Regions from separate parts of the Homo sapiens genome. Here region 1 is linked to region 2. Evidence: promoter capture Hi-C in 16 types of primary human blood cells and fetal thymus (Javierre and others, 2016). All regions are on one chromosome and are shown on one strand. Each heading gives the region's core, a stretch centred on a gene start or on the middle of the fragment in contact. The rest is flanking DNA. Distances are from core to core; before and after follow the strand shown. Region 1 overlaps CHIC1 (cysteine rich hydrophobic domain 1). Region 2 holds the start of FTX (FTX transcript, XIST regulator).

Region 1 (5,224 bases), core at 764-3,263, 710 kb after region 2:
TGCATTCACACGGCCAATGCTGGTTTTAAATTCTTCTGGGGCCACCTACAAGAGGGTACAATCTTTAACAGTTTGTGGGCAGCTTTTCACTGTTTATCTCTAAATCTAAGAAAAACATTTATTACAAATAATTTAAGGAATCACAAATATCTAAATAGATATATTCCCCATAAATATGTTCACGCACTCTAGGATGACGTTGAAAAGCACAACAATATAATTTCAAGTTCATAGAACTTAGCCTGATGTTGAAAATCAATCTTCTGAAATGACCACCAATAAAATGACTGCAATAAAATTGACGGAAAAGGATAACTTTCAAGCCTTTTTCTTACCAAATATTCTCATTATCAAGGCAGTATAATTGATAGTCTCTAGTCATTCTGAGTAAAAGCTGGGTAAGACTAGAAGCATAACACAACAATAAAAAACCCAAATACTACTAGAGAAAATGCAATTAAAATTAGACCTTGGCAATACTCCTGGATTACTTTGAAAAAAGGCAACTCTCAAACCCTTATTCCCTGGCAAATTTGCAATATAACAATTTTAACATTAGCCACTGTTAGTTACACTAACAAAAGACAATGCCTAGTGATTGCATTCAAAACAGCCTGTTAATATTCAGTATAAAATGGATTCATAACTGCGGTAAACTTTTAAAGTTGAAAGGTCTTTAAATACACAAGTTTAATATTTCTAGTTACTACCTCCATTCTTGGAAGTGGCTGCTTGTGCTTCTCTGTAAACAAGGACAAAGTCAGTTCAAAGGCATGCACATGACTGGAATAATTAGATTTATACCAAAAATTCTGCTTGAATGTTATACAATTCAAACATATACTAAAAATAGTTTGCTTTCAGTGAAATCACATTTCTAGATTACAAAAATGATTCCCTTTCATTTAGAAAGCTGTCAGACTATAAAGTTTATGAAAGAACATTTAGCATCTGGCTATAAAAGCAAAAATTAGGCAATGGTTAGGAAAAGTAAGGTATTATAAAATAAAAACCGCATTAGCAGGTTAGGAATCAAAAATATAGAGCTTTACTACTACTATTCCAAATAAAAATTGTACTCGAGGAATCAATTTATTACATTTTTGTCTCTTAATAGAGATGTCTTAGAATCAACACTACAAAACATATACCTATTAGCAAATGTTATAAAAATACATGATCACATAATTCAGCACTAAAGTAAGCTAAACATTACATATATAAGCTTTATTAGAAGTTTTATTAGAATTGTTCATGTCACTCAATAAGGTTAATTGCTTAGCCCATGAATCTGATTTTCTTACTAATATGTTAACAAACAATAGTTGTGAAATTATAAGGCTCAAAACTGTGTTTACACAGAGCAAGTAAACTAATTTCATTCTCCATCTAGACTGTCAGCAACATGATGTAAAGACAATCACTGGGTGCAAAGAATTCCAATTAAATGGCAAAATTTCTAAGTAAATATGAAAACAAATTCACACAGCCTTGCCTTATAATTGAAATTAGAAAACACTAACAAACTTAGTGCACAAGAGTGCACTAAGCACATTAAACTAAGACAAACTAAAAACACTGAAAAACAGATCGAGAGACTTGAATTATAGTTACTTATTAGCTATGAAAAATCCTAGGCAAATTCATTTAATTTTTCTGAGTTTCAGTTTCCCACCGATAAAATGAGAATAATAATCTTTGTTTTATATACTTCACAGAAAATGTAAATTAATCCTTGGAAGTAACCTCCTGCCTGAAATGCTTTGAAAAAGAAAGTCCATAAATCATGTCTCTGAGAAGGTTTGGAGAAAGAAAAGAAACAGCTCTCTTCTGCATGAAGTCTCACCTGAAGGCAATGGGTTTACTCAAGTAACTATTAATATTCCATAGTTTTCCTATATACTACATTATAAACAAAAGGATAATTTGTTTATAATCTGCTGCATGTTAAATGCAGATTCAATGCTCTTTAATTCTTCAGCAAAAAAAAAAGAAAAATCAAGCTCTTCTTTCTAAAAACAAGGTACCAAGTTTCTATCTTAAGATTTACCTCTCCAACAGCAATATTCAACTTCTTTTCTCCTAGGGAATCATTGGGCAACCAAATAGAAGTTAAAATAAAGAAAAAATATGAACATATTTAGCTTTAATCTGTAATATTACATTACTGTCAACTCTCTTTAAATTATGTATCCAGAATAGCTAACATATTTTTAAATATGGTAAATTTTGATATAAACTCATGCAAATCATAAAATTATTAAATCTGTCCATTTACAAATTTAAATGCTTATAATTGGAATTTACATTTTTATTTAAAAAGTAAGTACAAACACAGATGGAAAAAAAATAAAACCAAAAGGTGCAGAAATGAGTCAGTCCAAAAGAAAAAAAAAATTGTTTATAAGGAGCCTTAGAAAAGAAAGCTCCACTTCTACCAGGGATGAAATAGTGTTAGAAGACTGAGGGAGACAAAAGCTAGAGAATAAAAGAGGGAAGAGAAAATAGCTTTTTATTTCAAACACTGTGAATAAAATAAATTGTATGTTGAGGTATATAAAATTTGTTATAAAATTTGCCTTTTATTATATGCTTCTGGAATTGAAAACAAAAACATTACCTAAAAATGTGGTCATTTTCCTTCTTTCCTGCCAACACTTTCTTCTTTTTAACATATAATGGTCTCAATTTCTATTTTCTTACCATAGACGAATTAAAAACTAAAATATTCAAGTTACTAAAAATGAGAATTCAAATTTTTTTTGAGGTCATAAGACAAATATATTGAAAAGAAAAGCTTTTACTAGAGTTTCAAACAATAAACTAAAATCTGCATTTTGACTTTAAAAGGAGACCAGGATTGTCTTTGAAAGAAATCTGTATCTGAGCAACAGTAAAAGTCATAAAACAGAGCTAAAGACATAAGAAGTGAGAATTAGTAAACTCAATTTTAAACAACGTGAAAGAAATGTTTAGTTAACTGTGTAGAATCAGAGTTAACATTTTACTCATTTACTTTCATATAATTGAGTGTCTCTAGCAATGAAGGTTAGACAGCAGAAGACCCTTACTTTCTAGCTGAACAGTAGGTTGTAAAGAAACATTTCATTTCTTTTGGCTTTCTTGGAATGAAAAAAGAAAACCACACCATAAAGGTGGGGTAAAGGGTCATAATATTTTATAACAGGATGCAAGAGACTCTGTAAACAGAAGAAACTCTAAGCAAACCGCAGCAGGACTGATCTGCCTTCTTCAGTCATGGGGAACACAACCCTATCAATCAGCTGTCATACTGTAACACAATAGTAAAGGTCGGTTTTTATTGCTTACAATCCCCAAACACTGCACACTAGTCTCCCCATAACACAGTTTAATTGTTTCAAGCTGAGGGCCAAAAGCTTTACTTTCTTTTCTAAATTTCTGTGGTTCTTCCCTTTTCTGGTCACTAGAATCTGTGTATATACATCTGTTCGATATGAAATAGGGAAAACAATCTTTTCTGCACTTAATATAAAAGGTCATCTTTTTGTTTGCATTAAAAGCATTAACACATAAGAAGCAAAAAATTAATATTGAGCTACAGAGCTTGTCAAAATGGTTTTTTTAGGTTTTCAGACTTCCCTCTGCAATTTTGCTTAGCTCAGGCATCAGGCAGGCATAAAAGCTATTTAGAATCACATTCATATTGGAAGACTGATTTCATAAAAGGTAGATTTTTTTTCTACTTTAGCTATCACAGTTATTCATTTTAAAATATTTTAATGTAAGAGCTGTTAAGTCTGGAATTTAGACCTTTTTTCTTTTATTTTTTTCCTCAGATATACATTAATTATGTTTGCCTTTTCTCTCCAGTTATCTGAGAAGCATTTTGATAATGCAAAGGAACCTAAACAAATGAAAGTGCCTGTCGGAGAAAAATTATCTCATTAATGAGAAAATGAATAAAGCTAATGTTACCACCATGTGACTTTTAAATCAGATCTTCAGAATTCCTTTTAGTGTTTTTCCCATCACCAAACACATGCTAAGAAAAATATCACAGTTATAATTTATGCCTTATCCAACACATGATAGATTTTGTACACTATACATAATGTACACTTAAATACTCAAGTCATTATGACAATGTGCTACAAAAACAATCACTTGAAAAGAATGGATATATTTATGAGCAGCTCATATCCAGATAATTTAGGTTGTGTGAGTGCATACCAAAAGCAGCTTATTATTCTTACTCCTCTAGTTTAAAACAGTCTACTACCTTTGGGGCCACTGGAATTTTTAGTTTCAGAAGGCTTGTAAAGAAATGAGAAGGTGTGAAAAGATATTCTGAAGATTCCTTGAGCATATAAAATTGGCCAATTTTGAAAATGGATAATTTGTATGCCTGGGAATTTTATACACTGACATATTTTTTTGATTATTCATTTCTAGAATTTCTTGGACCTGTATTTCAAAGCCAATGGTAAAGTTGGATATAACTACACCTACAACACATGCAGCAGCATCAAAGGAAACATGAAGAATAAGTTTTTTACTGAAGTTCTTATAATTCACATTCTCTTTAATTTTAATAATGAATTTGCCATCTTTCTACAAAAATACACTATTATTCAAGATATATTTCCATAGCTACTTTATTCATTTGAAAAAACATTTATGATTAATTCATATAAAACAAATCTAAGTATAGGCTGCCGCTTCAATTGGTAAATTACTCCAATTGATCAGGATAGGAAGGTAGAACGTACTAAAGAGTGAGCCAAAATCTCACACCAAAGGGTTCTTTGTGTCCTAAAATGTTAAATGGCCACATATTCTCTAAGGCTAACTTAGCCAGGAACTATGATCACCTGTTTAGTATTCTGTGAAATGATTTGATATTATACCTCAGGAGAGACAGAAAAGGTCAACAGTCAACAGAACAAATTAGTGGTGAGGCCAGAGAATAATAATGTATTCTCTTAGAATTAGATGAAGAAAATTTGCAAAAGCAATGAAAAATTGAAAGCCAGTGAGTAGAATGAAAAGCAACCAGGGTGAAACTACAATACAATGATGAAGAATAGTCAACTGCAACTACAAACTAACATTGGGAAGCTAATAAGTACATGACAAAATACTAGGAATTTTATATATGCTGTCTCATTTAGCTCTTAAAAAGTGAGGTAACTATCAGCATCATCTCTATTTTTCACATAAGAACAGGCTCAGAGAAGTGACT
Region 2 (5,356 bases), core at 2,294-4,793:
ATTTTTGTATTTTTAGTAGAGATGAGGTTTCACTGTGTTGCCAGGCTGGTCTCAAACTCCTGACCTCGTGATCTGCCTGTCTCGGCCTCCCAAAGTGCTGGGATTACAGGCGTGAGCCACCGCACCCAGCCCGTGCCTTTTTCCTGAATTTCTCTTCTTAAGGGGCCATGGTACATTATGGAAGTTTTTCAAAATAAAGAGACGTGGAAAGAGTAAGTAACTCAATCTGTAAGAATTATGTGCTGATTTCAATTTTATAATACTTTCAAAAAATGCAATGTTGTCCATTTATTAAAAATAGTGAAGATAATTAATAATTAGGGGCATGGAAAAGCAGTGAAAACATCACAATATTGTATCTATAAAATGTTGATGTTTGTCTGTGCCATTGGTAAATAGTGTTGGTGGGGGAAAAGTTGAGTCTCTTATGCATTGAACCTTTGGGGTAATGTGTAGTGATTTCCATATGGCTGAGCCTAGGACCAAGCTCCTTGCCTGAGATGAAGGTAGAAGTAGAAGTTCCTTGGAAGAAACAGAACTAAATCTGTTTGCTGATGAATATTCATCTGTGCATGGTAAAAACACAGCCTCAAACACAAATATAGTGTCATAAAAAATGTTAACGTTAGGCCAGGTGCAAGGGCTCCCACCTGTAATCCCAGCATTTTGGGAGGCCGAGGCGGGCGGATCACGAGGTCAGGAGTTCGAGACCAGCCTGACGAACATGGTGAAACCCCATCTCTACTAAGAATACAAAAATTAGCCGGGCGTGGTGGCGGGCGCCTGTAATCCCAGCTACTCAGGAGGCTAAGACAGGAGAATCGCTTGAACCTGGGAGGCAGAGATTGCAGTGAGCCGAGATCGTGCCATTGCACTCCAGCCTGGGCCACAGAGCAAGACTGTCTCAAAAAAAAAAAAAAGTTAATGTTAAAACATTATATATACATTTTTTCTTTTTCTTTCTTTCCTTTTTTTTTTTTTTTGAGATGGAGTTTCACTCTATCACCCAGGCTGGAGGGCAGTGGCATGATCTCGGCTTACTATAACCTCTGCCTCCCAGGTTCAAGCGAGTCAGCTGCCTCAGCCTCCCGAGTAGCTGGGATTACAGGTGCCCGCCACCACGCCCAGCTAATTTTTGCATGTTTAGTAGAGACGGGGTTTCACCATGTTGGCCAGGCTGGTCTTGAACTCCTGACCTTAACTGATCTGCCTGCCTTGGCTTCCCAAAGTACTGGGATTACAGGTGCGAGCCACTGTGCTTGGCCCCCACCTCTTTTTTTTTTTTTTTTTAAATAGAGACAGGGTATTGCTATGTTGCCAAGGCTGGTTTCGAACTTGTGGTCTCAGGCAATCTTCCTGCATTGGCCTCCCAAAGTGCTGGGATTACAGGCATGAGCCACCACGCCCAGCCAAAACATTATATATTTGAACAAAAATCATAAGAGAACACAAAGATGCTTGCTATGGTTTGAATATGTCTCTCAAAGTTCATATGTTGGAAATTTGATGCCCCATGTGGTGGTGTTGGGAGGTGAGGCTTAAAGGGAGGTGTTTGAGTCATGGGGGCACCACTCTTATGAATAGCTTAATGCTATTATTGAGGGAGTGGGTTTGTTATTTCAGTAGTGGGTTCCTTATTAAAGGATGAGTTCTGGCCCCCTCTTGCGCGCACTCTCTCTTTCTCTATCTCTTTGCCCTTCCACCATGGGATGATGTAGCAGGAAAGCCACTGTCAGATGCCAGCTCCTCAGTCTTGGACTTCCCATTCTCCAGAACTGTGAGGAAATAAATTTCTGTTCTTTATAAATTGCCGAGTCTGCAGTATTTTGTTACAGTGGTACATAATGGACTAAGACAATACTAATGGGTATGAAGTTTCTTTTTGGGGTGATGAAAATATTCTAAAATTGATTGTAGTGGTGGCTGCATAATTCTGTGAATATACTAAAATCCATTGCATTGTACACTTTAAGTTGGTTAACTGTATGATATGTAAATTATATATTAATAAAACCATTAAAACAGAAAAATAACAGAGATAAGAGCATTTGTTAAAATAGTGTTGTAGAATTTGGGGTAAAATTTCTTATATTTTAACTTTTGTGTAATAATAAATGATTATTTTAATTTAGAAGAGGTTCTTTGTACCACTGAGATTTCGGCATTTCTTTTTTATTTAATGCATGCCTATTTCTCTTTTTTCTTCTTCATATGCACATTGTTGTATAATTTTTTGGGCGTATTATATAACAAATGCAAACCCATTTTTCTCTGAATAATGTTGATATAACATTCTTAAGTTAATTTGAGAGGATGGTGATGTATAAGTTTATGAGTTTTAGGATTTATGAATTTGCGGGTCTCAGTTTTTGGTATTTCCAAACTGGCTCTTTTAGAAAGCAATAAGAACCAGACACCAAAGTAAAACATAATAAAGAGAAACAAAATATTATTTTGTATTCTTTCTAGTTCACACCCAAAGAGGGATCTATTTCAGAGCCTCTTAAGTAAATAATGCCATTTCCCTCAAAATTAATATTTGAGTTCTTACAGAAGACAAGAACAGGCCTTGTAGTAAGCAGTGAAGGACATTGAATCTCATTTTTAATGTCCAGACAATACCAGGGTTGTGAATAGAAAGAAAAGAGCTTTCCATGTTGGTGGTCTACTGCCTCTTACCCCCAAATTGATTGAACACTTTTGCAGTTTTTGTTCTGGTTCCCTGTCTCTGGATCTTCCCTGTGGGTCATCATCAAAAAGGTGTTCTCTTTGCCCAAGACAGGCTGGTTGAGCTCACCCTGAGAGCTGCTTTGGAGAGGATGTGTGGAAATATTTTTTTTCTTTTTTTGAGATGGGGTCTCACTCTGTTGCCCAGGCTGGCAACATCATAGCTGGCACAATCATAGCTCACTGTAGCCTCGACTTCCTGGGCTCGAGTGATTCTTCCACCTCAGCCTTCTGAATAGCTGGGAGTACAGGTGCGCACCACCACGCCCGGCTAATTTTTGTATTTATTTGTAGAGACGGGGTTTCGCCATGTCACCCGAGCTGGTCTCGAACTCCTGAACTCAAGGGTTCCGTCCACCTCGGCCTCCCAAAGTGCTGGGATTACAGGTGTGAGCCACCGCGCCCGGGCTACAATTATTTAAAAAAAAATTTTTGCGGTAATTTTTACAAATTTCAACATCAGGCATAGGAGGAGAGGAGTAAGAGGCCCAAGAGGGCTGCAGACTGGCAGGGAAAGTGAAGAATTGAAGGGTAGACCACTAACGATAGCAGAGGAAATAAAGGTAGATGGTGGGCTAAGAATAATGGGAGAGGGATTGACGAAAGAAGTATGGGCTGAGGGAGGGATGATGGTGGAGGCCAGTGTGACCGAGGGGAGGGGAAAGGTGGAAGAAGCAGAGTGGGATAGCGTCCTGGGAAAGAAGTGAAGGAGGTCGGTGGACCGCTAAGGGTTAGACTCCTAGAGGCTGGAGAGCGGCGCGTGGGGGAGGCGGGGCGCGGAGGGGGGGTTAAGGGGCGTTAGCAGCGCATGCGCTGGAAGCACACTGCGGCGATTCTGGAGAGGTTGTCCTTTTCTGGCATCAGCGTTGCGGCTCGAGGCAAAGCTGGTCCTGTGCCTGCTGTCCATTGCCGCTAAGGCCTGCTGCTGCCATTCAGGCGTGTCTCTCTCTCTCTCTCTCTTTCATGCCGCTCTCTCCACCCCATCTTGGGACGGCCAGCTCTAAGAATTCCTGCTACGACACTGAATTCAACCAGGAGGTAAAGGAACGATGTAGGGGAAGAACAGAACATGGAGGGCGGCGGAGGGAACTTGGGCCAGGAAGATCCTTAATTTGTGCATTTTTCCAGTTCACGGGAGGAAAAAATGGAATACGTTACAGGCCCCAGTTTTCCAAAAGGATGTTGAGCATTTGCTTCCCATTGTGAAAGGAATGCGGGTTCCTTTCCTCTAACTAGAGTCAAGGCACCTGAGCATCGGTGTTTTCCATAATGTTCCCTGTTTAAAACATTTGTGGTTCGTCATTTGTAGCAGATGTATTTAAAGGGCGAGGCCTTAGGATTATGTTCATCCGATGGTTTGTGAAAGTTTTCCTTGCCTTTGTTCAGGTTGACCGGTCTTATGTGAATCCTGGGGTACTCTAGCCCCCTCCCTTGGAGTTGGGACCGATTCCATCTAGATCTGGGATTCACTCTGATCACCTGCAACGCCTTCTTTCCCCGATTCAACTTCCCTAGTTTATCGCATCTACTCGCATTAGGGAAGGCTGGTAATGGCTCTCCTTGGGCACTGGGGCAGAATTGTGGCGAGAAACACGTCCAGATAGCATCAGGCATGCATACTGTATACAAATGGGAGCAAGAAGAGAGAGGACTATCGCGGTGCGCAGGGTATTTGAGAGGCTGGATGAGGAGGCGCGGCGCCGAGGGGCGGCGCTCAAGCTTACAGTATTTGAGAAGACCTGAGTTAAGGGGACGGGCTCCAGTGGGGCGGGGGTGGGGAGAGGGAGGCACGCATGCGCAAGGCTTGAATGGCGTCGGGGTTGGAGGGTTGGAAGGTCGGGAAGTGAAGGACTCGCAGGCATATTTAACAACGCAAAGTTGCTAGGAGTTGGTACCAGCGTTTGGGAGGTAGAGGTGGCGCTCATGCATATTTGAGACAACATCTGGATGGTTGGGGAGAACGGTAAGGAGGAAGCGGCGCGCATGCGTATTTCAGACGGAGTGCCGGGGAGGGGAGGCGCTCAGCATTCGGGTAATTAAGGTTGCAAAATGGCGAGGGGGGAGGTAAGCTGTCTTTGCTTGGCCATCTTGGGCTAGCAGGCCTTGCAGAGAACTACCTTTTTAGCTGAGTGAAGGGATCAACCTGAGTTGGAGTTCTCCTATGCTGTGGCCAGATCCACTAGAAATTAACCCAGAATCTTAGCCTCTCAGTGGCCTATCGGTAAGTGGGTACAAAAATGAGGAGGCGATGATGACTCTGCAAAAGGTTGCGGCAGCTGGCGGTGCGTAGGAAATGCGTAAAAAGGGAGCACTTGGAGACAGGCCACATTTGGGCAGTACGCATTCGGAGGGCTCTCTGGCTTTCCGATCTTGGGTCGCTGTACTTGGCTCTGAATACAGTCACCCCATCAGAGTAGCAAAACACTGTGGTTGTAGTGTGAGAATCCAATGTTAATGTTGGCCGAAAGCTCTTGATTTTCTTCCCTGAGAACATAGGCGTGAGGATTTGGATGTGTTTCCAAATGCTTGTTACTCTTTGCCGTAAACCTGGAATTTGGACCTATGGCTGCCTGGGACTCATACTGTCGTGGAGAAAGATTGAAAAGTAGTTAATGGCAGTGGTGGTATG

Evidence for each region. The method cuts DNA at HindIII sites, captures the fragments that hold promoters and counts their contacts. A CHiCAGO score of 5 or more calls a contact.
Region 1: a fragment that was not itself captured here is called in contact with the fragment with the promoter of FTX in region 2 in 1 of 17 cell types (naive CD8 T cells); the score reaches 7.1 in naive CD8 T cells.

What each region holds. Positions count from the first base shown.
Region 1 is chrX:73,579,238-73,584,461 of GRCh38, reverse strand. CHIC1 (cysteine rich hydrophobic domain 1) reads right to left here. Exons shown (of 6, transcript NM_001039840.4): 3 at 1-45. Among named protein-coding and RNA genes, the nearest start is that of CHIC1, 19 kb to the right of the region's middle. The HindIII fragment of the contact is 1,572 bases long and covers 1,228-2,799 here.
Region 2 is chrX:74,291,761-74,297,116 of GRCh38, reverse strand. It overlaps FTX (FTX transcript, XIST regulator), which reads left to right and starts at 3,543. Exons shown (of 7, transcript NR_028379.1): 1 at 3,543-3,765. It overlaps LOC124905199 (a long non-coding RNA gene), which reads left to right and starts at 4,521. Exons shown (of 2, transcript XR_007068266.1): 1 at 4,521-5,356. RefSeq lists an enhancer at 4,289-5,079. The HindIII fragment of the contact is 8,135 bases long and covers 1-4,448 here.